4 separate regions of the Homo sapiens genome follow, and regions 2, 3 and 4 are each linked to region 1. The links are contacts of gene promoters, found by promoter capture Hi-C in blood cells and fetal thymus (Javierre and others, 2016). All regions are on one chromosome and are shown on one strand. Each heading gives the region's core, a stretch centred on a gene start or on the middle of the fragment in contact. The rest is flanking DNA. Distances are from core to core; before and after follow the strand shown.

Region 1 (3,175 bases), core at 1-2,500:
CTGGCTAGTTGCCTCGCCTAAAATTGGGGTGATGGCTTCATCCGACCACACTCTCCATTGCAACCTTGCTGGGCAAAGGAGTCCCGTCCCCCTCACAAGGCGGAGAGTGAAATAACGGAGGCTTTGAGGGAGGCAGGGCATCCAGCAGACACAGGATGGCCTTCCAGTACCAACACGCCGAGAGGCATCTACCTACGCAGAGCCGCACAAAAAGGCGGATAAAACACAATAAGGCACAGAGAAGACCCAGCTGGACTGCAAAGGACACTCGAAAGGGAGGAAAAGAAAGGCTTAGCACAGTCCTTGAAATTGTAGGCCCCACCCTGGACTGCTCTTTCTTCAAATAGCAGGAGCCCCTGCCGCTGAGGAGGGGCATCTGGGCCTGGACCGAGGAAGAAGAGTCTCTGAGGGGAGTAGGCCAACGGGGTTTTCGGGGAAAGGGGGAAGATAAACACCCTCACCAGTCACTGTCACTAGCCCAAGGACAAAGGCTGCAGATGCTACCCAGCCTGAGGTCTCCATGGGCAACCGAGGTGGGGTTGCGGGAATGTGCTTACTGCCCCCACTGCTGTTCCTTCTGGAACATTCCCTGGATCCCCTGGCCCCAGAAGACGATGAGGAGGCGGGCTGAGGGCCCACTCTGGCGAGGCCCCCTGACCCCAGGTCCTTCTACTTCATCCCCACCGGGATTAGCGCAAGATGGGAACGGACGCTGAGAGGCAACGCTAGGCGGGCAATGGGTGCGGGCGACGGGTGGATGCCGTGATGGGTGGGGGCGATGGGTGGGCGGGGTCGTGGGCATCGGGCCGAGTGGGGGTGCGTTTTCCGGTCCAGCGGGCAGGGGTAGGGAAGATGGGAGGGCGCCGGGGGTCGGACCCGGGTAGCCCAGGAGGCGGCCAGGAAGGGGGCCTCTTCGGGGAGATGGGGTCATGGCAACGAGCAGAGGCGACGTCGCTGGGGGAGCAGCGGGGTGGGCACGGCGCCGGCTTTTCGGGGAGCGGAGCGCAGAAGATGGCAGTGACCAGAGGATGGGCCGGCGGCCGCATCATCGCGGGGGATGGCGAGGGCACGACGCAGGGCCAGGGGCGCCGGGGCCGCACTTACGGTGAGACCGGTCCCCAGCACGATCACATCGTATTCCTCGTCCATGGTCAGGCCTCGGTGCCAGCGCCCGCTCGGCTCCTCCTCCTCCTTCACCGCAGCAGTCGCCGCCGCCACCGCCGCCGCCGCCACCGCACTGGACCAAAGATGGCGGCGCGTCGGCCGTCGCCCGACCCCTCCGCCGCGTCAAAGAGTCCCGCCTCTTCCCGCGCCCCGCCGCAACCGGCAGGGGCCACCGCCTCCCCGGCTCGCCTCCCGGGAGGGCTGCCAGGGCCCGGGCCACAGCACCAGCGCGGCTCCGCGGGCGACGCTGCTCGCCGAGAGTCTAGAGAGGCGCGGGGCGGGGCGGGCGGGGCGGGCCGGCGGCCGGTGCTGCGGCCCAGGAAGAATCCGTGCGCGGGAGCCGCGCGCGCCCCGCCCCACCCGCCGCGCCCCGCCCCGCCCCGCCCCGCGCGCGCCCGCCCACCTCCCCACCCCCGCCCACCCCCCCGGGAGTCTCGGCGCGGCCCCGCGGCCGGGCGCGCGCCGCTGCGGCAGCCTGGGGCGGCCCCCTCACGACGCGAAGGCTGCCATTGTCACGACGGCCTCCTGAGACGCCGAAGCGCACCGGGACTCGGCCCGACCGCCCCTCCCTACCCTGAGCGGTTAGGGCCCAGCTTGCTAAAGCCCCTCCCGGTCTCCGCGGATGCCTCTTCGCCTCCCCCTCGCCAGGCTCCATCCTCCCGCATCCCTCCGGCGAGCACGCGCCTAAAGCCCAGCGCAGAAATGAGCGACAAGAGGCCCAACGCATGGCGACCCGCGTTTATTTTATTAGGAAGGAAACAACCAAGCACCCCATGCTCCTGCCCGGCACTCCCGGTGGGAACATGCCAAACAGCCGGCGATCGCACCCAGCCCACCTGTCGTGGAGGTCCCTTCCTTCTCAGGCCACAGAAATAAACCCGTGTACTTCTTATTGTTAGCACAACATCACCAGAAAACGATAACGACAGCCAAGCAGGACAGACAGTTAAGTAGTACTTCCACACTCCCAAACTCAGGGAGCCCTATAACCTTAAGGAGGGAGCATTTGCTACACAAAAGCACTATCCACAGCCAGGGATGATGTAGCCACAAGAATAAATAAGGAGAAAGGAGACCCTAGAATTCATGTCCCTTACGCCTCACAGCGACGAACCCTGGGAAGCTGGTTGGTCTAGCATCTACGCAGAATATGTACACCTTGTTGGGAGAGATGGGGGCAGCCCAAGAAAGCTCCTCAGCGGGCTGAAGAGGGAGCAAGATGGGCTGAGGGGAGCTTGCAGTTCATGCTGCAGTAGGAAGAGGGAAGCTCTTCAGTCCAGTGCGCTGCAGGGTGGGAAAGCAACAACACGGACACCGTCCCACCCTCAACCCCCCCACTGGCACAGGGTCACACAATCTGGGTCAAAGAAATAGTGGGGCCCTTGTGGTCATCAAAGCGATCCATGGTCTTGAGGCTGAGGATCATGTGCAGGCCATAGGTGAAGATGAAGAGCATGAACAGGGAGGTGAGCAGCCCCATCCAGATGCCGGGGGAGAAGAAGCTGGCACAGTCGCTGGCGTAGGAGAACTGCTCCCCCATTACGTTGAAAGCCTGGATCTGGCAGACACACAGACACGGGTCAGAAAGGACCGTTGGGAGGCCCAGCAAGAACTGGGACAGGGGCAGCGCAGGGACAGGACTCTCAACTACATGCCCAAGCCCAAGCCTCTCTTCGTCTCTCAACCACTAGCCTGGGCTCCCCCACCTGAAGCTGGGCCACGCCCGCTCCATACCTGGAAGTCCTGAAGCATCATCTGCCAGGGAGAGGGCTGCGTGCGGGCCACGAGGAGACTACCCTTCTTGCTCAGGCTGCTGACATACTCGCAGTGGAAGGAGTAGATGCTGGGCCCTGTGACCTGGGAAGCATTGAAGTAGGCGACGGAGCCATTGCTGTGGACTTCGAGGCGCTCCATGGTAAACCAGTGCCGGGCAGACACTGGGTAGAGGCGGTTGGCCAGAATGAACCTGGGGAAGGTGGCAGGGATGTCAGGTGAGCTGGGGAGGCTGGGG
Region 2 (6,270 bases), core at 1,853-4,352, 330 kb after region 1:
GGAGTGCAGTGGTGCAATCTCGGCTCACTGCAACCTCCACCTCCCAGGTTCAAGCAATTCTTGTGCCTCAGCCTCTTGAGTAGCTGGGATCACAGGTGTGCACCACCACACCCAGCTAATTTTTATATTTTTAGTAGGGACATGTTGGTTTCGCCATGTTGGCCAGGCTGGTCTTGAACTCCTGGCCTCAAGTGATCTGCCCACCTCGGACCCCCAAAGTGCTGGGATTACAGACTTGAGCCACTGTGCCCGGCCTGCTTCTTGTTTTGATCATAACTTTCTTTTTTTTTTTTTTTTTTTTGAGATGGAGTCTCACTCTGTCGCCCAGGCTGGAGTGCAGTGGCGCTATCTCGGCTCACTGCAACCTCCGCCTCCCGGGTTCACGCCATTCTCCTGCCTCAGCCCCCGAGTAGCTGGGACTACAGGCACCCGCCACCACGCCCGGCTAAATGTTTGTATTTTTTAGTAGAGATGGGATTTCACTGCGTTAGCCAGGATGGTCTCGATCTCCTGAACTCGTGATCCGCCCGCCTTGGCCTCCCAAAGTACTGGGATTACAGGCGTGAGCCACGGCTCCTTGCGGATCATAACTTTCTTGTATAGTTCTTTCCTTCTGGTATTTTTAATTGCTTTTCCTTATTTTCTTGTACTATTTGCCATCATCGTATCCAACTTCAGACTCCCAATCACACCATCTAATATGTTGAATTCACATATACACAATTTTTTTTTTTTTTTTTTTTGAGACGGAGTCTCACTCTGTCGCCCAGGCTGGAGTGCAGTGGCGCAAGCTCGGCTCACCGCAACCTCTGCCTCCCAGGTTCAAGCGATTCTCCTGCCTCAGCCTCCTGAGTAGCTGGGATTACAGGCACCCGCCACCATGCCCGGCTAATTTTTGTATTCTTAGTAGAGACGGGGTTTCGCCACGTTGGCCAGGCTGGTCTCGAGCTCCTGACTTCAGGTGATCCACCCGCCTCAGTCTCCCAAAGTGCTGGGATTACAGGCGTGAGCCACCACACCCGGCTATACATATATATTTAATTCTTGGAGTCCTCTCTCCCAGAGCCTACCATTCTCCTACTCCAACCTGGACTGATTGCCAACCAGGCTTTCTGCCCAGTTGGCATCCCTGGTATTTCCCATCACAGCTCTCCTGGATTAGATCCATTGTCTTATGGATCCCACATTTTCCTTTTTCTTGGCTTGCACCCTTGATTTGCTGCAGAGCATCCCCAAGTAGCTTCCTAAGAAAGTACATTTCAGAGGCAAATTTTCTTAGCTCTTGTGTATCTAAAAACATTTTTATTCCATTATCACACATAATGGATATTTTGGATGGTGTACTTCTATGTGGAAAATCATTTTCCCTTGGAATTTGGAAAGCATTGCCCTATTATCTTTTTCTTTTCTTGTTGTCCTGTGATCTTTTATCATTCAGTGTTGTTATGAACTCTGGTGCTACTCTGATTCCTGTTCCTTTTTCTTTATTTCATTTTTCCATAATTCTTGTTAGTTGCTTGCCAGACTTCCTAGATCACTCCTCAAAGTCCTCATATTTTCTCTCATATCTTTGTCTCTATTGTTTTGTTCTATTTTCTGGGAGACTTCTTCAGTTTTATTTTCCAATATTTCTATTGAAATTTGAATTTCAATAATTCCTTCTTGTTCTCTGATTGCTCTTTTTACATAATATTCTGTTCTTGTTTTATGAATACAGCATTTTCTTTTAGTTCTGTAGATATGTTAATTAAATTAAATTTTTTGATACATTCCCTGAATTTTCTTGAATTCCAAGTTTATATTTTTTCTACAGGTTTATCTTGACTCTTTTTCCTGTTGAAGGCTTTCATCAAATTTCTGATAATATTTACTGACTGGTTTATATTTAATAAGGAAGGACTGGATAAGTATTGTGGATTTAATCTGCTGTTGGGCAAATAGGTCTGTTTTCCTGCTGTGACTCTTCTCTGTGTAGGACAGGGAGGTGACGAACAGAGTATCCCCTAGATGCCGGAATGAGGAAACAATTGTTCAGGGGTTGTCAGCATCCATGCTGGAAGCCTTAGCTCTCCACCGACATTTCAATCAATTTCTTTACAGAACTGTCAGGTGTTTTCCCTGTAGGTCTGTGCCAGCTCCCAGCTCAGCTGTCTGGTGGGGAGAGGAGGTTCCAACTGGTACAGTCATTCTGTACTGGTGCCTTCAATTAATCCCCATGTGTTCAGTCCTATTTAATTCTATCGTTTTCTACCACATGCCTACTGATTCTGATTGTCTGGTGTTATATCTAGCAAACTCACTCCCACTTCTTCTGTGGCTCCCTTGTCAAATATTCTCACCTGGATTTTTACTGCCTATTTTATTCATCAATCAATTCCCATATGCTTTCTATAAAGTTGTTGTCCTTTGATGATAACCTCTCATCCTCACCACATTCTCTTCACTCTGGTGGGTTTATTCCTTTCCTTTTTTTTTTTTTTTCAGACGGAGTCTTGCTCTGTCACCCAGGCTGGAGTGCAATGGCACGATCTCGGCTCACTGCAACCTCTGCCTCCTGGGTTCAAGCGATTCTCCTGCCTCGGCCTCCCAAGTAGCTGGGATTACAGGTGCGTGCCACCAGGCCTGGCTAATTGTTTGTATTTTTAGCAGAGGCAGGGTTTCACCATGTTGGCCAAGCTGGTCTCGAACTCCTGACCTCAAGCAATTCACCCTCCTTGGCTTCCCAAAGTGCTGGGATTACAGGCATGAGCCACCACACCCTGCCTCCTTTCTGTTTCTTGACATTCTTCTTTTAGTGCACTTCTATGAGTAAAGAAGGAAAACTGTGTGTGTGTGTGTGTGTCTGTGTCTGTGTGTCTGTGTGTGTGTCTGTGTGTCTGTGTATGTGACTGTGTGTGTGTGTCTGTGTGTCTGGGTGTGTGTGTGTTCATGCACATCTGTGCCTGCTCATGGTGTCTTATATCAGAATTTATTCATTTCTTATCTATTTTCTAACAAATATGGTTAAGGCTATTAATTTTTCTAGGTGACCTCTGTAGCCTTATCTCCTAGGTTTTAATATGTAGGGCTCTCAATGTTGGTCATTTCTTTTGTTTTTAGAGACAGGGGCTTGCTCTTTCTCCCAGGCTGGAGTGCAGTGGCATGATCCCACCTCAGCCTGTTGAGTAGCTAGGACTACAGGTGCGCACGTGCCCAGCTAATTTATTTCATTTTTGGGAAAAACGGGGTCTCACTTTGTTGCCCAGGCTGATCTCGAACTCCTGGGCTCAAGCGATCCTCCTGCCTTGGCCTCCCAAAGTGCTGGGATTACAGGCATGAGCCAGCGCCCCTGGCCTGGATTAGCTCTTCTGAAATATATATATTCTCTATCAGTTTAAGAGATTTTTAGACAAATGGAGTAAAAGTTTGTGTTGTTTGTCATATTGATAAAATCCTTCTGGTTGTGGGCTTTCTGTCAATTACCATCTATACTAGATTTTCCTGGTTTTTATCTTCTACAGTCCTGTTTTTAAGAGGACCTTAAACTATTACAGTCCCATTTTTTAAATTACTGATTTTTAATTCTAATAGTAAATAATTTTGATTATAGTATATTTTTCTTTTTTTTCTTTTTTTTGAGATGGAGTCTTGCTCTGTTACCCGGGCTGGAGTGCAGTGGCACGATCTCGGCTCACTGCAAGCTCCGCCTCCTGGGTTCACCCCATTCTCCTGCCTCATCCTCCCAAGTAGCTGGGACTACAGGCGCCCACCACCACACCCGGCTAATTTTTTGTATTTTTAGTAGAGACGGGGTTTCACCTTGTTAGCCAGAATGGTCTCGATCTCCTGACCTCGTGATCTGCCCGCCTCGGCCTCTCAAAGTGCTGGGATTACAGACGTGAGCCACCATGCCCAGCCGATTATAGTATATTTTTCTACTTTTCAATGGCAAGTGTGAAACTGTATAACTTAAGTTCCTTCTATTCAACCTAAGGAATTTAGCAAGATTCTCTTCATTATTTTTTAATATTTCAAAAACTTCTTGAGTTCTAGTCTTGTACATTATTCTTTCCAATCTAGATTTAAGTTGTTATAGCCCATGAAACTTCTTGACTTTTGATTGAGCAAAGAATTTCCAGAGTTATTGATGAAGAATTAACATTTCTATAATGTTAATGCTTCCCCTCCAGGAATACGGTAGCGTCTGTTTTTGTTTTTGTTTTCTTCAGGTCTTCTTTTAGATTTTTCAGTAAAGTTTTATAGCTTTTTGATGCAGGTTTTGACATTTCTTATTAAGTTTATTCCCAGCTGTTTTATAATTTTTGTAGTGAGAGTGAGTTGAATCTTTTTTCCCTCATTACATTTTCCAGCTTTTTATTACTGGTCGTGTTTACATGCCTGCATCCTAACACCGGGGAACTGACTTGAAATGGGCCTTTCTCCCCGCAGAGACGCACCAAGAATGAGGTTTAAAAGAGAATGGAAGAAGGATGTATGTGGGGCTTTTTATTTTTGTTTTTTAATTGACACATATTTAGGGAGTACAATTTGATATTTCAATATATATTTATGTTGCACAATGGTCCAAGCAGGGTAGTTAATATATCCATCAGCTCATGCATGTACCATTTCTTTGTTGTGGGAACTTTCAAAAGTCTCTCTTCTAGGTATTTTGTAACATACAATATATTGCTGTCAACCATAGTCACCCTGCTGTGCAATAGAACAACATAATTTTTTTTTTTGAGACAGAATCTCGCTGTGTCACCCAGGCTGGAGTGCAGTGGTGTGATCTCAGCTCACCAGGTTGCTCTGCCTCCTGGGTTCGAGCGATTCTCCTGCCTCAGCCTCCCAAGCAGCTGGGACTATAGGCACCCGCCGCCATGCCCAGCTAATTTTTGTATTTTTAGTAGAAATGGGGTTTCACCATGTTGGCCAGGCTGCACTCAAGCTCCTGACCTCAAGTGAGTCACCCACCTCAGTCTCCCAAAGTGCTGGGATTACAAGCGTGAGCCACTGCACCTGGTCAAAACACCAGAATTTATTCATCTTATCTAATAATAACTTTGTACCTGTTGACCAACCTCTGCCCATCCTCCTCTCCCCGATCCTCTCCCCAGTCTCTGGTAACTACTGTTCTACTCTCTGCTTCTATGATATCAACTCTTTTTTGTTTTTGAGATTCCACATATGACTGAGATCATGTGGTATTTGTCTTTCTGTTTCTGGTTTATTTCCCTTAACTTTATGTCCTCCAGGTTCATTCATGTTGTCTTAAGTGACAGGATTTCATTCTTTTTTATGGCCGAATATTATTCCATTGCATATATGTACCACATTTTCTTTATCCATTCACCTGTTGGTGGACACCTAAGTTGATTCTGTATCTGGCTATTGTGAATAGTCATTCAATAAAAATGGGAGTGCAGATAACTCTTCCACATACTGATTTCATTTCCTTTGGATATATACCGGTAGTAGGATTGCTGGTAGTTCTATTTTCAATTTATTGAGAAACCTCCATACTGTTCTCCATAGTTGACTATACTAACTTACTACCCCACCAACAGTATGAAAGTATTCCCTTTTCTCCACATCTTTGCCAACTTGTCTTCTTTTGTCTTTTTGATTAAAGCCATTCTAACTGAATTGAAGGGGTATCTCATTGGGCTTTTGATTTGAATTTCCCTGATGATGAGTGATGTTGAACTTTTTTTCCCCTCCCTCCCTCCCTCCCTTCCTTCTCTTTCTTTTTTCGAGACAGGGTCTCACTCTGTCACCCAGGCCAAAGTGCAATGGCACGATCCTGGCTCATTGCAGCCTCAAACTCCTGGGCTCAAGTGATCCTCCCACCCCAGCCTCCCAAGAAGCTGAGATGACAAGTGTGCACAACCATGCCTGGCTAATTTTTTGTTTTTTTAGAGACAGTGGTCTTGCCATGTTAACCAGGCTGGCCTTGAACTCCTGGACTCAAGTGATCTTCCCACCTCGGCCTACCAAAGTGCTGGGATTACAGGTGTGAGCCAAGGTGCCTGGCGAGATTTTTCCCATATACCTGTTGGTCATTTAAATGTTTTCTTTTGAGAAATGTCTATTCAGGTTTTTTGCCCTCTCCTAACCTTTTATTTTATCTATCTATCTATCTGTCTGTCTGTCTGTCTGTCTATCTATCTATCTATCTATCTATCTATCCATCCATCCATCCATCCATCCATCCATCCATCTATTTCGAGATGGAGTCTCGCTCTGTCACCCAGGCTGTAGTGCAATGGCACGATCTCGGCTTACTGC
Region 3 (6,270 bases), core at 2,223-4,722, 320 kb after region 1:
CTGAAGCTACCTGTGTTATCTTTTTTCCCCACATTTTGGCTGCATAGTGTTAGATCGCATCTTCATCTGACAATGATATTGTGACATAATTCTCACTAGAGGGAACAGAAAGATAAAGCAGTCTTCCTTCCACTCTGCTTGACTGAAATGTTTTCTGATTGCTATCACACAGTCTTTGTTTGTTTCCTTATCAGTAAAGCTGCACCAGAAACTTCCTCTGTCATTTCCTGCTCAGAGGCGCTCCCTGCCCCAGGACTAGCTCTCTGGGTGTGGCCTGTGGTCCGTGGTGTGGCCTGTGGTGTGGCCCATCAGTCCGCCCAGGGGTCACTCGCCCTCTGTGTGGCCAGTTGCTGGGTTGCTGTTCCTGCAGCAGCTGCCCTACCCTGGCCAGGCCCTTACTGTCCCTGGTTCTCTCCATCCCAGGACCATCCTAATAACCGTTTCTCCTTTTTTCTTTTTCTTTTTTTTTTTTTGGAGACGGAGTCTCTCTCTGTTGCCCAGGTTGGAGTGCAGTGGCATGATCTCAGCTCACTGCAAGCTCCGCCTCCCAGGTTCAAGCGATTGTCTTGCCTCAGCCTCCTCAGCCTCCCGAGTAGCTGGGATTACAGGTGCTCACCACCACGCCCGGCTAATGTTTGTATTTTTAGTAGAGAAGCAGTTTCACCATGTTGGCCGGGCTGGTCTCGAACTCCCGACCTCAAGTGATCCGCGCACCTTGGCCTCCCAAAGTGCTGGGATAACAGGCGTGAGCCACCGCGCCCGGCCCATCCTAATAACCTTGAAGCCTGATTGTAGCCTCCCCTCTCCCACCTGTCCTCAACCATGCAGGGAGTGGAGCAGTGCCTCACAGGGTTCCTCCTCCTGGAAGTCAAAGAAAAGTCAAGCTTTTGATGAGGTCTGGCAGCCCCCGTGCTACCACTGACCAGGGTGTGAGGGTGGCCCAGGCCTCTAGTGCCCAGCTGGGGTAGCTGCCCAGTCCCCAACTGTGTGGAGAGATTCTCACCGTGGGGAAACTCTAACTTTGAGAGTTTGTCTTAAAAGGCCAGCACTTTTATAGTATCAGAGGTTTGGCCCTACATTTTAAAATGTTTTTCTCTGGTGAGTCTTTGAAGCCAATCAATCAGAATAGTGGTTCCATCAGCTGGGAGAGCCTCAGCATCTTCATTCATTCATTTCCTTTGCAAATGGGCAAAAGTATCCTTTGGGGGAAACTCCTCCCCTTTACTCTAGTTCTAGCTGTACAGAAAAAAAGCCACCATCACCCAGCAGGATCGTCTTTTTTTTTTTAATTTAAAAAAAAATTTAGGGACAAGGTCTTGCTCCGTCACGCAGGCTGGAGTGTAGTGGCATGATTATAGCTGACTCCAGCCTCAAACTCCTGGGTTTAAGTGATCCTCCCACTTCAGCCTCCCAAAGGGTTGGGGTTTACAGGCATGAGCCACCACGCCCAGCCACCCAGCAGAAGAATCTCATCAAACCCTCCAGCATGCTGGAGAGTGTCAAGGAGGCCTCCCCTGAGGACATGAGTCCCTCCCCTGTGACTGTGCCCGGACTGAGGGTCTTTGATGGCTACAGAGTTTCACGGTGTCCCTACAGAGTTGGTCAGCTCAGGAACCCCCAGGTAAGGACTGGCAGGCAGAGGGGCTGCTCCCTACTGTGCACAGCACTACAGAAAGTGTGGATGGAGGATGAGCTGCTATTCAGTGCTGAAGCTTGAAGCTCACACTGGCTCCCACAGCTTCTTCTGCCATCCCATCACCTTATTCCATGCAATCCAATGTATGTATTTTCCTGGGATTTCTCTAGTTATTCAGAGCAGAAGGACCAGCCTCAAGGAGTTCAAGTAGAGGTCAGTCTCATGGGGGCCAGACAGGCCGAGCTGGCCACCACTCACTCGCTTCCCTCCCAGTACAAGACTCAGACCCGCATGACCATGATTGAGATGTCTCGGGTGCCCTCGAGCCACCCCCCCCAGGAGCCAAATTCTTCCCAAGAGTCCATTATCCCGGGGACAGCTGTCTTGTGATCCTGTTCCCTGGAGAACACAGGCACGGAACAAGCCCTGATCCCCTTCGGTGACGACTCAGTAGTGTGCACAGCCAGGAAACCACAGAAGACAGGCAGAACCAGTTCTCCAGCTGTAGCTACAAGTTAACTATAAAAAGACCCCTGGGTCCACAGGGCAGGGCTACTCGGCTGGCTCTGGCCCAGGCTCTTGGGCACAATTCTGGCCACAGACGGGAAGCACAGAGAAGATAACCAATGGTGTCACAAACAGGTTTTCCAAGATTTCAATCTGGGAGACAGGACACTTCATCCAGGCTTCCGGTTTCAAAATTGGAAGACAAATGTCCTAAGGGGTCTTGTCAGTTTTGTATACTGGCACACAGCCATGATTTACAGAAACAGGACTTTTGGTCTCTCACCCTGGAAGACAAGAGGAACTAATCAAAATGGGCCAAAGGACCAGAAACTTCCAGTGGACATCACACTTGGACAGATGAGAGCTTAGAAAGCAGCTCAATTGCTGTGACCAAAGTTCGGCTCCCCCCTCAGTGACAGTCCTCCTGGGAAGGAAGGTAAGAGACTCAAGGAGCCTCTGGGGTCCTGCTGGGACTTCCCAGGCCAGGGCTGTGCTCCAGTGGCAGCTATCCTGAGGCCAGGGACATTGAGGGGAACCTCTAAACAATGGAAACAGCCAAAGAGATGATGAGCGTAGGTCCAAGTGCAGCCAGGCAGCCTGAAAAGAGAAAGGGAAGGTGGAGTTCTCAGGGACAGGCTTCAGAGGAAGAGGAGGGTTTAAATGAGTCTCTTCAGTAGGGCCAAAGCAAGTTCATTTCCCAAGGGCTAAAAGTCTGCCATGTTTTTATGAGTTGTTTGGGTTAAACCTGGGTCATGTTGACCTAGATACATCTCCAAGAAACACCAGATATGGGAATCTTAATAAGAAAGAATGAGCAACATGGTTGTGATCTTCCAACAGAAATACAGTGCAAGAGGCCGGGTGCGGTGGCTCACGCTTGTAATCCCAGCACTTTGGGAGGCCGAGGCGGGTGGATCATGAGGTCAGGAGTTCAAGACCAGCTTGGCCAACATGGTGAAACCCTGTCTCTACTAAAAATACAAAAATTAGCCGGGCGTGATGGTGGGCGCCTGTAATCCTAGCTACTTGGGAGGCTGAGGCAGAGAACTGCTTGAACCCAGGAGGCGGAGGTTGCAGTGAGCCAAGATCGCACCACTGCTCTCCAGCCTGGGCGACAGAGCGAGACTCCATCTCCCCTTCCCCCCTCCCCCTAAAAAAGAAATACAGTGCAAGAAAGTCCAGTTTTTTTCTCATAACAATGTTCTGCTTAAGTTTGGAGAAAATATGCATTTTCTTAAGCTTGAAATAAAGTTTGGCTACTTTTGGATGGGGTCTTTGTGTCATTCCTACGTCAGACACCAATCTATACTGTTGCCAGGAGGATGGCGACATGATTGATGGGAAAAGGAAAAACTTCACACAGGTGACTCCTTAGAGCAGGGAGCAAAGCAGTGACGCCTGTCAGAGGCAGAAGCTTCCCTGGCAGGACTAATGACATTTACAGTCCTCATTGAGAGAAACAAGAGAAAAGGCACATGGAAACTATACTATGAATGGAAAATGGCTATAACCACAGATGCAGACAGGATTTTAAAGTAATGGCTATTGTGAATAACTTTGTGCCAATACATTTGAAAATACAGTTGAAATGAACAAAGTCCTAGAAAAAGAAATTACCAGTATTGACTCAAGAAAAAGCAAAGACCCTAAATAGTCATATAATTATAAATTTTTTGTTAGTAATAAAATATCTTCCGTTCAAACCAAACTCTAGGCCTAGATGACTTCATCAGCAAGATCTATCAAATATTCAAGAAGCAATAGTTCTAATTTTACACAAACTCTTTCAGAGAATTAAGAAAAAGAGGCTCCACTCTTGTTAGAAGGCAAACATAACCTTGAAACCAAAACCTGTCAAGGACATTATGAGAAAGAAAATTATAAGCCAACTTCACTTGTAGGCAGAGATTCAGAAATCCCAAACAGAATACTAGCAATATGTAAAAAAGATAATACATGGTGACTGGACTGGGCACGGTGGCTCACGCCTGTAATCCCAGCACTTTGGGAGGCTGAGGCGGGTGGATCACCTGAGGTCAGGAGTTCAAGACCAGCCTGGCCAACATGGCGAAATCCAGTCTCTACTAAAAATACAAAAAATTAGCTGGGCCTGGTGGCGTGCACCTATAATCCCAGCTACTCGGGAGGGTCAGGCAGGAGAATCGTTTGAACCCAGGAGGTGGAGGTTGCAGTGAGCCGAGATTGTGCCACTGCACTCCAGCCTGGGAGACAGAGCGAGATGCTGTCTCAAAAAAAACCAAACAAAAGGAAAAAAAAAGATAATACATGGTGACCAAGATGTGTTTATCTCAGGAGTGCAAAGTTAGTTTAATAATATAAAATCATTTATTGTAATTAACCAAATTAATGTTAAAGAAGAAAAATTACATGATCAGCAGGGCATGGTGGCTCATGTCAGTAAGCCTAGCACTTTGGGAGGCTAAGGCAGGCAGATTGCTTGAACTCAGGAGTTTGAGACCAGCCTGGTTAACATGGTGAAACCTCATCTCTACAAATAATAGACACACACACACACACACACACACACACACACACACACACACACAAATTGCCGGTGGTGGCACATGCCTGTCATCCCAGCTACTTGGGGAGCTGAGGCAAGAGGATCGCTTGAGCCCAGGAGGTTGAGGCTGCAGTGAGCTGAGATCATGCCACTGCACTCCAGCCTGGGTGATAAAGCGAGACCCTGTCTCAAAAAAAATTAAAAAAAATACCAATTACATGATCACCACAATAAGCACAGAAAAAGCACTGGATAAAATTCAATATCCATTCATGATTACAAAGAAAAGTCAGGAGCCTAGGAATTAAAATGAACTTCCTTAGCAAAGGATTTATTAAAATAGTTATAGCATCATCATATTTAATGACAAAAAGTTGAAAGCATCCCCTGGAGATCATAAACAAGAAAAGGCCAGCGCAGTGGCTCACGCCTGTAATCCCAGCACTTTGGGAGGCTGAGGCGGGTGGATCAGTTGAGGCCAGGTGTTCGAGACCAGCCTGGCCAACATGGTGAAACCCCGCCTCTACTAAAAATACAAAAGTTAGCTGGACGTGGTGGCACACGCCTGTAATCCCAGCTACTTGGGAGGCTGAGGCAGGAGAATCACTTGAACCCGGGGGGTGGAGGTTGCAGTGAGCCGAGATCTCGCCACTGCACTCCAGCCTAGGTGACAGATTGAGACTGTCTGAAAAAAAAAAAAAAAGAGAAAGAAAGAGAAACTGTAAAAAAAGGAAAAGGAAGGAAGCTGTACCTCTACTTCACACCATTACAAAAATCAATTTTACACAGATTGAAAACCTAAATATGAAGGGCAAAACGATGAATCTTTAAGAATAAAATGAGAATAGCTCCATTACTAGGGGTAAGCAAATGGTTGCATGGGTGTTCAATTTAGAATTGTTCTTTAAACTGCGCAATATATTTGATGCACTCTATTTCAAACAGCCTTATCAAGGTATAGCCTACATAAAACAAAGTGTGTGTTGCTTAAAGTATACAGAGGCTGGGTGTGGTGGCTCACACCTGCAATCTCAGCACTTTGGGAGGCTGAGGCAGGAGGATTGCTTGAGGCCAGGAGTTTGAGACCAGCCTGGGCAACAAACATAGGGAAGCCTAGTTGCTACAAAAAATTTAAAAACTAGCCAGGCATTGTGGCATGCACTTGTGGCCCCAGCAACTTGGAAGGCCAAGGCAGGAGGATCACTTGAGCCCAGGAGTTCAAGGTTACGGTAAACTATGATTGCCACTGTACTCCAGCCTGGGAGACAGAGTGAGACCTATCTCTAAAATAATGATAATAATAAAGTATATAATTTTGCTGGGCACCGTGGCATGCGCCTGTAATCCCAGCTACTCCGGAGGCTAAGGCAGGAGGATTGCTTGAGCCCAGGAGTTTAAGACCAGCCTGGGCAACAAACATAGGGAAGCCTGGGCAACATAGTGAGACCCCCATCTCTAATTTTAAAAAATAAATAACATAAAGTATACCATTTGGTCCATTTTGACACAGGTATGCACCCTTAAAACCACCACAATCAAGGTAATGAACATAGCTATCAACCCTAAGAGCTTCCTCCTGCATCTCTGTAAATCCTCCCTCCCA
Region 4 (6,270 bases), core at 2,051-4,550, 280 kb before region 1:
AAATTTTATTGTATATAATTTGGAGTTTACAACATGACCTTATAGGATACCAATGGATAGTAAATGGTTACTATAGTGAAGGAAATTAACATACAATCTCACATGTTTACTTTGTGTGTGTCAATAGCAGCAAAAATCTACTTATTTCACAGAAATCCCTAAGGCAATACAATTGCATTAGATGCTGGTTGGATCTTTAGCTGCAGTCCTCATGCTGTACATTGGATCTCTCGACTTGCTCCTCTTACATATTTGCTACTTTGTATCCTTTGACCTACATCTTCCCATTTCCTCCCATCTTGTCCCTGGTAACCAGTTTTTTTTTTATATATTTATAAATATACCACAGTACATTTGACCTTTTCCCCCCACGTACAAAACAGATCATTCAGTATTTGTCTTTCTGTGTCTGGCCTGTTTCACTTAACATAATGTCCTCTAGATCCATCTATCTTTTTGCAAATGGCAGGATCTCCTTCCTTTTTAAGGATGAATAATATTTCATAGTGTGATGCGATGCACATGCCACAATATCTTTATCCACTTATCTGTCAACAGACACCTAGGTTGTTTCCATATCTTGGCCATTGTAAATTAATGCTGCACTGATCATGGGAGTGCAGATATCTTTATGAGAGGGTGATTTCACTTCCTTTGGGTCTATACTCAGAAGAGGGTCTGCTGGGTCAGGGTCTGCTGGGTCATGTGGTAGGTCTAATTTCAACTTCCTTAGGAACCTCCATAGTGTTTTCCATAAGGGTTGTATGAATCTACATTCCCACCAACAGTATACTAGGGTTTCCTTTTCTCCACACCCTCACCAACACTTGTTATCGCTTGTCTTTTTGATAATTGCCATTCTGATGAATATGAAGTGATATCTCATTGTGGTTTTCATTTGCATTTCCTTGGTGATTAGTGATATCGAGCATCTTTTCATATACCTGTTGCTATACTTGAATGTGTCCTCCAAAGTTCATGTGTTGGAAACTTAATCCCTAATGCAACAGTGTTGGGAGGTGGGACCTTTAAGAGATGGTTAGGTCATGAAGTCAGCCCTCATGAATGGGTTTCTGTCAGTGTCAAGGGAGTGGGTTTGTTATCAAGAGAGTGGGTTTGTTCTAAAAGTAAGTTCAGCTCTCTCTTGCTCTTGCGTGCACTCGCTTGCCCTTCTGCCTTCTGCTATGGGGTGACACAGCAAGCAGATCCTCACCAGATGCTGAGCAGATGCTGGTGCTATGCCTTTGGACTTGCCAGTCTCCAGAACCATGAGCAAAATAAACTAATATTGTTATAAATTATCCAATCTCAGATATTCTGTTATGGCAAAAGAAAATGGACTAAGATACCTGCTAGACATTTTTATGTCTTCATTGGAGAAATGTCTGTTCAGATCCTTCACCCATTTTTTGTTTCTTTTTCCGCAATTGACTTGTAAGAGTTCTTTGTAAATTTTGAATATTAACCCCTTAATGTAGTTTGCAAACATTTTTTCCCAGTACATAGGTTGCCTTTTCATTTTATTGATTGCTTCCTTTCCTGTGCTTTTCTTTTTCTTATAACCTATCCATTGAAGAACCTGGGCTTTTGACCTGTAGAGTTTTCTACAGGCTGGCTTCTGCTGATTGCACCCTCATATCAGGCTATCAGAGGCACAAAATGTCTGATTGTTTCTTTTCCCAAGTTAGCAGCTGTTGATGCTTAATGGCTATACCTATTAATTCACTGGGGCTAGCAAATAGGGATATTCTAATTCTGTCATTTGTTTTTCCATTACTGATCAGAATACATTCATAAAGAGACATTCCCTTCATCTACCCAAGTGGGACAGTTCACGTAGAGGAAAGGTTGGATAATGCTTGATTCTTCCCTTTTACTTAAGTAGTTTTCAAGGAAATGAAGTAGTTCCCTTACATCCTCTGAAGATGACAAATTCTTTTGCTTTTTTTTTTTTTTTTTTTTTTTGAGACGGAGTCTCGCTCTGTCGCCCAGGCTGGAGTGCAGTGGCGCGATCTCGGCTCACTGCAGGCTCCGCCCCCCGGGGTTCACGCCATTCTCCTGCCTCAGCCTCCCGAGTAGCTGGGACTACAGGCGCCCACTACCTCGCCCGGCTAATTTTTTGTATTTTTATTAGAGACGGGGTTTCACTGTGTTAGCCAGGATGGTCTCGATCTCCTGACGACAAATTATTTTTCTAATATCATAATGAACTCATGGATTTAAGTGTATTTGATGGATTTCAAGCTACTATAATTATTACACAATCATGCATCATTCAATGACGGGCATATGTTCTGAGAAATGTGTCATTAGGTGATTTAGTCACTTTGCAAACATCACAGGGTGTACTTACACAAACCTAGCTTACTACACACCTAGGCTATATGTTATAGCCTGTTGCTTCTGGGCTACAAACCTGTACAGTATGGTACTATATTGAATACTGTAGGCAATTGTAACACAATGGTAGGTATTTGTGTATCTAAACATAGAAAAGGTACAATAAAAATATGGTATTAAATCTTTTGGGATTCAGATGTCTCGGAGGATTGAAAAAAAATCTTATAGGACCACCATTGTATATTTGGTTCATTGTTACTATTATGTCATGCAGCATATGACTATTTATGAAAGCAAAAATTCTTTCATATATGGCCAGTGGTAGCCTCTTCAGGTTAGCCCCTAAGTCCTTTTGACATGGCCCTCGTCATTCCTTGTGGCATTGTTTCACTGTAAAAAGCTTCACTTTAGTGCTGGCAGACTGACTGCTTTCAGGGGCTTTGTCACATGTCTTCCATTTTCCAGAAGCCTGTAAGCCTGGTGGAACAGAACTATATGTGGCCTCTGGTTTTACCTACTTAGCAAAGAGCTCCAAGAACACCTCACTTCTGTTTTTGCATAATCAAAACTCTTATGTAGAGATTTAAAAACCTAAGGGATGACACACTGGCGATTTTGCATGATTCAGCATCAAGACTATGCTACGTCCTATTTAAGTTACTGTGTGACTGTTCTTTTTCCTTTCCACCCTCATGCCTGCCTTCCAGCCCTGCTGAACTACTTACGCAAAGTTTTGAGCCTTTCCACCTTAATGCCTTTGTGCACGCTGCTTCCTCCTGCCCCACTTTAGCCTTAGCTTAGTCACCACTTCTTCCTGGAAGCCTCCCCAGACAACTGATCTGAGAGAGATGTCTCTTTTGTTTGTTCCCATAGCATCTTGGTTTTGCCTTATCGTAGCACTTATCTCACTGATTGCAATCGTCTGTTTATCCATCTGCTCACTCCCTTGTTGCCCATGAGACTGTGAGTGGCAGGGCATGTGGCTTGCTCACTTCATCTTCCCCAGTATCTGCACAGTGTCCAGCATATTAGTGGGCTATCAACAGGTAATTGTTGAATGAATGGATAAAGCCCAAACTTCTTCATGTCACTCTTCCCATTGCACTCCCACCACTCCTGGTTCATTCTTCTGCTAGACCGCTCACTACGCTGAGTTGAAATCTACCCATATCATAATTCTACCCTTCTCCCTATCCCAGCTAGAGAGTGAGGTCTTTTAGGGACCAGCTCTAATCCCCTTTTCTAGCTTCATTGTCTAGCAGGATGCACAGTGCAGAGTAGGCACTCAAATAAACTCTTGGTGTTACTTCTCTTCCAATATTGTTATTAAAAGATAAGAAATCTATTGTCTCCATAACACTAAGAGCGGTTAATGTGAAACTTGTTTCTGTGCTTAGTTTGACTTCCTCTTTTAGAATCATTTTTGGGAAGTGCAACAAAGTTCCTCTTTACATTTCCCCCACCAAAGTGGCTTTTGGAAAGTTTGGAGCACCCCATGCTCCCTCCCCATGAAAGCTTTCCTCAGCAGGCACAAATGGCATTCTCTCATCCCCTGAGCCCCTTCCCTGGACTAGGCCTTATGTTCCTGTTTGCCTCAGTTGATGCCAGAAGCCCAGGTTTCCCACTTTCAAACCCCACAGCAAAACTTGAGCTCCTTCTCTTATGTTTAGTGGCTCTACTCCCATCCAGTGCCACGTTTTTGCAACAGGAATTTACTGAATCAATTTTTCTCTCCCTCTTGGGTCACCCCCACGAGCATACAAACATGCTGTTATTTTTCCTGTCTTAAAAACATGGACTTAATCACACCACGTTGTTTGTCTCCTGAGATGGTCTCCTTGTTTGACTCATGGCCAGACCTCTTTTCAAAGCTTTATACTGTCTGTAAAGGCAGGAGCAAACCAGGGTTCACCTGCCCCAACCTGACATGGAGTGACTGCCTTCCTTCTGCTTGCTGCCCCTTGCCTCAGTCCTGGAAGGGCTTTTTATTCTAAGGCATAATTGGAGGTCAGTGCTTCTTTGGATTCTCTGCCATCTCAGATTCATGTTCTCTGAGCAGGGAGGGAGCTGAGAATACTCCAAATAGTGTCTTTTCCTTTTTCCCTGGCCTCTTGGTCAAAGCTGGTGGGCTTAAAAAGTATCACACATAAATGAAGCTAGAGATACAAAAGACTTCCTGTCCCAGGGGTCGCTGTACCTCCTGGCAGAACCCCACACTTCCTGCTGTCACACATGCTACCGCATGGGAGAGAAAAACCACAGAGCTATAAATCTCCCTGCGGTCAGCCGTCATCCTTCTCTGTGCTCAATTCCCAACTGGGGCTAATGCCATAGTTCCCTACCGCAGAAAGTAAGGATACGCTATCCATGCAGGCTGGCCTATCTGGCCCTTCGATGAACAAAGGGCACCTAAATGTAAGACAAGGAACTCAAACATTTCCTTCCCCCTGGCTCCATGAGAGGGCAGGGAGGTTTACAGATCCAGGGGACTCCCTAGGGCTTTGGTCAATTGTAAATACCTCTTTCCCCAGGCCAGAGATCTGCACCCTTTCTTTGTACTGAGCCAAGATGGTACTGTCTACATCAAAAATTCTAAGTCAATGGTGAGTGGGAAGCCAAGGAGCCCTAGGTCATTCTCAGTTGTTCTCAGGGCACAAAAAGAGACCTGTCAAATCTTGGCACTGGTTTCTGTGGAATATCATTCTCTTTTCTTTTCTGAGCATGGACTGAGCTTTACCTGTTCATCTGACTTCCAGGCTTGGCTCTTTCCAAGATTCCTATTCCATTAAGGAAAATTCCTTTTTGTTTTTACAGTGTTTCAAAACAGGGGCACTGATAGCTTTAGGCCAATCCTGCCATGCCCCACCCCCCACTCCATCTCCAGCCTTTATAACAAGCAAAACCCACATATTTTCAGATGCTCCCGAGAGGAATTATACCATCCCTGGTTGAAAAACACTGTGACTTAGGGGGTGAATGCTTAAGAGTCTCCCATCTTTAAAAAATCCCTTGACCCCAGAGCTTTCCCCCTTTACAGTCAGATGTTTCTGGAGAGCTGGCTACACTTCCTCTCTCTCTTTATTTTTTAACTTCACATCCATTACCGATCCTTCCATCCCAACCTGAGTTCAAATTCATTCCTACAGTTGTTTAGCTATGTGACCTTGAGCACATTACTTAATCTCTCTGAACCTCAATTTTATCAGACATAAGATGGAGATAGTAATAGTTACCCCTCCCATAGTATAGTTTTAGGGATTAAATGGGTTACAGTAAAGCGCTTAGACAAGGGTCTCTTACATAGGAAGTGTAACTAGCCAAGCTAGTTAATTCTCTGAGAATTCTATTAGTGTTTTAATCATCATTGGGGGTTTTATGGAAGACAATTTGTCACCTTCAGACACTGGCAATCTTCTCTCCTCCTCTCCAATGTGTATGATTTTCCTTCTTGGCCAGTTGTGTAGAACTTAAATAGCAATGTTGGAAGATACTGGGGCAGTGGTGAGCATTTGTGATTTTCATCTGATTTTAATGTATGATATTGGCTCTTGAACTGAGATACATAATAGTAAGAAAGCTTCCTTCTAGTTCTTTATTGCTAAGATTCTTTTAAAGCTTCAGCATATGTTAAATTTGTACTACATTCCTTTGCTGCATCAATTTCAATGATTGTATAATTCTGGCCCTTCAAACTGTGGGTGTGAATCCCATTACTAGACTCTCCAATCCTGACCCGTCCTTAAAATCATCCAATAAAGCGGACTTGAAGATGGGCACTAGTCCTGTAATACAAAGCGTTTCATCATTAGAATGGCTGATTTGTTTCCTTCCTGCTGTCCTTGTCATGACATGGGTTCTTGGCATAGCCTGAGAAACAAGAGAAATTGGTCCAGTAACTCCTTATTGAATTGCCTTTCTGCAGGCCTGGCG

What was found. The method cuts DNA at HindIII sites, captures the fragments that hold promoters and counts their contacts. A CHiCAGO score of 5 or more calls a contact.
Region 2: a contact is called between a fragment that was not itself captured here and the fragment with the promoter of GDI1 in region 1, in 3 of 17 cell types (monocytes, naive CD8 T cells and activated CD4 T cells). The highest score is 8.8, in monocytes.
Region 3: a contact is called between a fragment that was not itself captured here and the fragment with the promoter of GDI1 in region 1, in 7 of 17 cell types (total B cells, naive CD8 T cells, activated CD4 T cells and 4 more). The highest score is 9.9, in total B cells.
Region 4: a fragment that was not itself captured here is called in contact with the fragment with the promoter of GDI1 in region 1 in 2 of 17 cell types (M1 macrophages and M2 macrophages); the score reaches 6.5 in M1 macrophages.

The regions. Positions count from the first base shown.
Region 1 is chrX:154,435,229-154,438,403 of GRCh38, reverse strand. It overlaps GDI1 (GDP dissociation inhibitor 1), which reads right to left and starts at 1,250. Exons shown (of 11, transcript NM_001493.3): 1 at 1,105-1,250. The coding sequence starts at 1,149. ATP6AP1 (ATPase H+ transporting accessory protein 1) reads right to left here. Exons shown (of 10, transcript NM_001183.6): 9 at 2,899-3,130; 10 at 1,888-2,722. The coding sequence ends at 2,513. RefSeq lists an enhancer at 1,218-1,718. The HindIII fragment of the contact is 14,364 bases long and covers 1-3,175 here.
Region 2 is chrX:154,101,253-154,107,522 of GRCh38, reverse strand. No RefSeq gene overlaps it. Among named protein-coding and RNA genes, the nearest start is that of MECP2, 6.7 kb to the right of the region's middle. The HindIII fragment of the contact is 9,158 bases long and covers 1-6,270 here.
Region 3 is chrX:154,117,963-154,124,232 of GRCh38, reverse strand. No RefSeq gene overlaps it. Among named protein-coding and RNA genes, the nearest start is that of OPN1LW, 23 kb to the left of the region's middle. The HindIII fragment of the contact is 175 bases long and covers 3,385-3,559 here.
Region 4 is chrX:154,716,322-154,722,591 of GRCh38, reverse strand. It overlaps GAB3 (GRB2 associated binding protein 3), which reads left to right. Exons shown (of 10, transcript NM_001081573.3): 2 at 6,263-6,270. Among named protein-coding and RNA genes, the nearest start is that of GAB3, 32 kb to the left of the region's middle. RefSeq lists an enhancer at 2,944-3,238. The HindIII fragment of the contact is 1,115 bases long and covers 2,743-3,857 here.